2 separate regions of the Homo sapiens genome follow, and region 1 is linked to region 2. Evidence: promoter capture Hi-C in human tissues and cell types (Jung and others, 2019). All regions are on one chromosome and are shown on one strand. Each heading gives the region's core, a stretch centred on a gene start or on the middle of the fragment in contact. The rest is flanking DNA. Distances are from core to core; before and after follow the strand shown. Region 1 overlaps MSI2 (musashi RNA binding protein 2). Region 2 holds the start of MRPS23 (mitochondrial ribosomal protein S23).

The links. Contacts are between HindIII fragments. The study calls those that stand out against the background at their distance.
Region 1: a fragment that was not itself captured here is called in contact with the fragment with the promoter of MRPS23 in region 2 in 1 of the 25 tissues and cell types used here (dorsolateral prefrontal cortex).

The regions. Positions count from the first base shown.
Region 1 is chr17:57,269,818-57,272,517 of GRCh38, forward strand. All of the region lies in intron 5 of MSI2 (musashi RNA binding protein 2), which reads left to right. Among named protein-coding and RNA genes, the nearest start is that of MSI2, 15 kb to the left of the region's middle. The HindIII fragment of the contact is 3,689 bases long and covers 1-2,700 here.
Region 2 is chr17:57,848,703-57,851,402 of GRCh38, forward strand. MRPS23 (mitochondrial ribosomal protein S23) reads right to left here and starts at 1,342. Exons shown (of 5, transcript NM_016070.4): 1 at 1,265-1,342; 2 at 538-708. The coding sequence starts at 1,308. RefSeq lists enhancers at 1,323-1,652, 1,328-1,837. The HindIII fragment of the contact is 5,598 bases long and covers 1-2,700 here.

The DNA.
Region 1 (2,700 bases), core at 45-2,544, 580 kb before region 2:
ATCTGCTTGGGGTCGCCTTTGGCTGAGTGTCTGCTTGGTGAAGAATATGCATTTTTGGAATCATGATCTCTGCTTTCCGTGTGGTGTGAAGTGCGCAGGTGTGGTCTTGGGGCTGAGCACCCTGTGGTATGTTGTAGCAGCAGCCTCACTTGGTCGGTCCAGCTGGGACAGTTGTCCCACTGGGTCCAGAGTAGGATAAGATATTTTCCATTCTCCCTTCTTTTGAAGATAGCACCAGGCTTCCAACCATCTGGAATGTTAGCCTTAGGGTGGATGCCTGGCTGCTATCTTGCTTTATTTTAGCTGTGAGATTTTGAATAGTTAAAAAGAAAAATCCTAATTCAGAATAATGACTGTCATTTATTGTGAGTTTATATGTTATAGGCATAGTACCGAGACTATACACTTAGTCTTCTTTAATCCTTACAACAATCCTTTGAAATAGTTGGTATTATCTCCGTTTGACAGTGGGTAAACTGGGGCCTGAGAGGGCAGACAGCTTTCTAGAACCATAGAACTAGTAAGGTTCAGGGTTGGCCTTTGGACCAAAGTCTCTCTGAATCCCAAGGCTTTGTTCTCCTCTCTGCTAAGCCTTGCTGCATCCAACATGAGTGGGCAGAGTTGAGGTTGCCACTTTGCCTGATGGCTATAAAATGCTCAGGCTGAGGAATAGAATTTGTGATAGTCTAGCTGGAAAGCTTCAGGTTAATTTTTGTTACCTGTTTTCTGAGAGCTTGTTTAGCATAGGTAAGTGCCACTTACCAGCTATGGCATTTTAGACAAGTCACTTAGTGGTTTTGCACCTCCACTTGTACCTGTTAAATGGGATAGCAACCGTCCCTCCATTGTAGAATTGCTAAGGGTAAGATGGACTGAGCTACTGCATATGAATGGCCTAGGGTGATAGCTGCATGTTGTGGGTACAGTATAAGCATTCATCATCTGTTACTGTCCCCGAAAAATGTCCCTGCCCCCATCATCAGGGGACCTTATAACCGAGCAGCTCGTGGGTTGATTAGCACTGTTGCTCCTTTCTAGGGTGAGGGATAGAACAGCACATTGAGATTGGAAAATTCTGTGTCAGTGGCTTGGCCTGCTCATGAGGTCCTGGCTCTCGAGGCGAGATAGCATGCAGCCTTTATCTTGGGGATGCTTGATGGGCATTAGGAATTCATTTCCTTTTCCGTATCTGATGCCTGTGTTTTTGCTGCCTCTGAGAGTAAAGTCCCGGGGAGCAGCTAGGGAACAGCTGAGACACTGCTGTGTGAGAGGTCTCCCCATGAGTCTTCTCTCTCCCTGTACTGGTCTTTATCTGCCCGGGGGTAGCTCTACCAATGACTGATCTGAAAGCATCACATTCATTTATTTGTCACTGGCTGTGACAGGCAAGTTAATGCTAATGGATTCTTTTTTTAGCCTGTTGTCTGGGATGAGTTTCTCTCAAACGTCCTGAAATCTAAGGCATTAGGAGAATGTGTAACTTTTATGGCAGGGGAGGATTTATAAAATAAATAGGGTTTTGTGTGCAAGGACCTTAAATTTAGGTTAGGGGTATGAGCAGCCAAGGAGCGGGGGTGTCGGGCAAGCACAGAGTCTTCTTTTTAAGAAATCCATTCAAGAGCTCTAAATTGCTGTTTCTGTTTCAATTATGTGACAATTTCAAGGGTTTAGAAAAATCTAATAAAATGGTCTTGATGATGCATTCTGGGGAGAGAGTGCTTCAGAAGATCTAGGAGAATAAATTCCTTGGGGGTCAAGAGATTCTCGTTCCTGCCACCTTGGGCCTTCCTTCATCTGGGTTTTTACATTTTTATTGTTTTGAAGGGCAGAAAATGGTGTAGGAATGTATTCAGGGCTTCATCCATACCCTCCACCGAAATGAATTATTCTCTTTTGGCAATTGCAAAATAGACGGGCCACTGCAATCTTTTTTTTTTTTTTTTTTTTTTTAAGCTGACATATTGTAAACGACTTTCAGACCATGATTTGTGTGTGTAGTGATGTTGAATAAAGCACCAAAGAAAAGAAACTGAAGGAGGGGAAAGAGTGAGGAGGGAGGCGCTATAAAAGTTTTTTTCTTTTCTGCCATCAAAGCTTTTGATAGTTTCCTAAAGCACAGAAGTTTACAATGGAAGCGGGCTTTTGGGCCGCCTAGGGGAACAGAGTGCAGAAAGACCTAGTGTAGCAAAATGTGATGCTGAGTGACATTAATGAGGTGACCGCTCTGGTGGGAGGGAGGCAAGGAACCAGCCAAGTAGCAGTTCCCATGACTTGCTCTCAGCTGAGTGTTTCCTTCTGCATGCTTGCATGGGCGCCTGTGTGTGTTTGTGCATGCACACGTTGTGTTTCCTAAGTCTTCAGATGGAATTTTTAACAACAAACCCTGTTTGGTTTACTGTGGTGTTCTCCACCCTAAAGAGGCCGTGAATGTTGAGTTTTGTCCTTTATTCCCACCTGCTGAAAAGTAAAGTTTTCAACTTAGCGGCATTTTGTTTTTACTTTCTGGATACCTGCCGGAGCCTGGCTGGGCGGCGTGTCAGGCCAACATCACAGAGCTGGGCACTGTTGGAACACCAAACCAAGAGTGTGAAAAGTCAATATTCTCATTTCTGAAATGAATTCCAGGGAGAGGGGAAAAGAAAACCTGTTGGTGTACAGATCCCGCCCCTCCAAAGGCCCTAGATCGATAACACTTCATAT
Region 2 (2,700 bases), core at 92-2,591:
CTGAGTGGCTTCAAAGAGCCGGACTACTAGATCCACAGACCACGTTCCTCCTATCTCCACTCGTGGAGAAGGCCGGCATAATGATCACCATAAGCTTGGAGTCAGAGATGTGATTCCCAGATCTGCCACCCTCCTATATATTTAGTAATTACAAGAAGTTAGCTAATTTCCTTGAGCTTCGCAGTCTCCTTGAATAAAATGGAAACAAGAATGCCTTCCTTACAAGTTAGAGTAAGGCCTTTAGAGAATGAGATAATGCTTGCAAAGAGCTTAGTACAGTGCCTGGCCCAAAGCAGATGCCCAGAAACATGCGGCTATAATTGCAATGATCTTTCGGTTGCTGGGCTCCAGATTCCACTTTTCAGAACTTCAGTTTCACTATGAGGAAGGGGTGCTGCCTCCCTAATTTGGCTAGATAAGCCTTCTCCACAGGGCAAACCCCTGACTCAATTTCATGTTTGAATTCCCAGACTGCTACCGAAACCTTCCCTTCTGAAGTTCTGTTGCCTCCTGTCCACTACAGGGCTGAGCACTCACGCTCTAATCCGATCCTCGTGGTACCAGATGTCTTGGATGGGAGCTTTGGCTTTGCCATATCGCACTCGAGGCCTTTGGAAGACGGGCTCCCTCAGCGGGGGAAAGGCGTCATATACGTCAAACCACAGGGGCTTCTCCTTCAGCACCCCGGCCCGAACCAGGTCCCGAGTCCTTAGGGAGGGAACAGAACGAAACTGGGTCACTTGCAGTAGCCTGCCAAAGCCCCTGAATCAGTCTAGCACAGTTTGGGACATTAAAGGTATTATGCGGTCTGCAACACAGAACGGGGAAGGACTGCTCCCCACCTACAGAGAAGATCTGTCCACATCCCAAACCAAACTTAACAACGCTCAGGAGAGTTAAATCCCTCTATCTTCTTTTGTGCGTCCCACCCACGTTCGGTCACGGAAAAATGCAAAGAGCGGTCTTGCATGACCTGATAAGGAAGGCCCATCAGGCTCTTCCTCCCTTCCTCTTCCTAGAGACCTCCACTCGGGGAGAGGCAGCTGCAATAATCTTTAACATGACACATAAATTCAAGGAGAGGCATCCTCAGGCACAACTATTCGGAGCCAGGAGAAAACATGAGAGGGCCTCACCCAGCTCAGCCCCCGCACCCTGCAATACGCCTCGCCCTGCTCAGGTCCGCTCCAAGGAAGAGCGTGACCGGCTGAGAACCCCAGCCTGGGGGAGGCACCCTCAGCCCACCACGGCTGGGAGCACACACCGAGAGAAGATGCTCCCTACGGTTTCCAGCCGGCTGCCTGCCATGATCTGCGCCTGGTACCGAGCGTGACTAGCTGCTACCGGAACCGGAAGCGGCTGCTCCAGGTAAAGGGCGCATAAGTTGCTGGCCGAGCCAAGGATCGCTGGGCTTTCACCGCAGCCCCTGCGGGAGAGCGGCGCAGGCAGAAGCAAGTGATAGGCCGAACGGGCGCGCTCCGAGGTTACTTGCCAGGTTCAGGCAGGAGCACTCGATAGCCGAGCCAAAAGGGCAGGAGCGAGCCAAAGCCGGACAGAAGTAATAAATGACCGAGCTGTGGGAGGGATTCATCATGATGGTTGCTTTACTCTCTCTCGCCTTGTTGAGCCAACTCCTCTGAAAAGGTGGGGCCGCGCGGAGGAGAAGTAGTGGGGCAGAGCAGGGGTGAAGCGCAGCCTACAGTCCTAGGGGAGCCAACAAAGGCCGAGATTTGAGGTCACCAGCTCTAGGCCCAGGCTGAGCCTAATGTTGTTTAGAGTCACAGACTACGCAGAAGAAAACCAAGGCCGGGGAGGGGCCGTCACTTGCCCAGCGTCGTGCTAGATCTCGGGCCTCCGCCTCTGGCTGTGTAGTGCTCCCCACTAAGCCCCTCGTCCCCGGAGTGCCACCTGCATCCACGCTAACTAGGATGCTGGCTGCAACTCGTGTTTCCCGCGGCCGGTGTCGCGGGCTACCTCCTCCTTGGAACTCGAAAAGTGAAAGTGTCCGGAACAAACAGACGCCGAGAGGGAAACGAAAAAATCTGGAGAAAGTCATCTCTCAGTGTTAAACTGTAAAAAAATATAAACTGTGTGTAGCATACCCTTTGACCCAGTAATCATATTTCGGGGAAAGAACCCCTTAGAAATTAAAGCATCAATTCATGAGGATGTTTGTGCAAGGATCATCGTTGCAGCATTGTTTGTAGTGGGAAAAAAAATCCATCAGATGAGAAATAGCTGGAAAATTATTGTTCATACTTTCTTTGGAACCCTATGCAGCTATTAAAATGAATGAGCTAGATCCACATGTATTTACCAAGGTTAAGGTACATGACTTATGTTTAAATGAAAAACGAAGTTGCAAAGAAACATGTTTAGTGGAATCTCAACGTGTTAGAAAAAAAAAAGGAAAAAGAAACACCTCTATATATGTTTGTGTTTGAGGATAGAAATTCTGCAGAAGGACACCCAAGGCTGTGAACATTGGATATCTCGGAGTGAAACTGCAGGCAGGCAAGGGAGAATTTTTTCTTCCTTTACACATGCTTCAGAGTTTGACTTGTAAAGAGATTGTATTCATATTTGAACTTTTAATCCAATGAATGTTTTGAATCACACACAATGTCTCCTGGGAGCCTAGTCAAGTCATCCTAGAGTCCTCCCACTCTGAGGCTGGTGAAGGGGAGGACGGGACTGTTT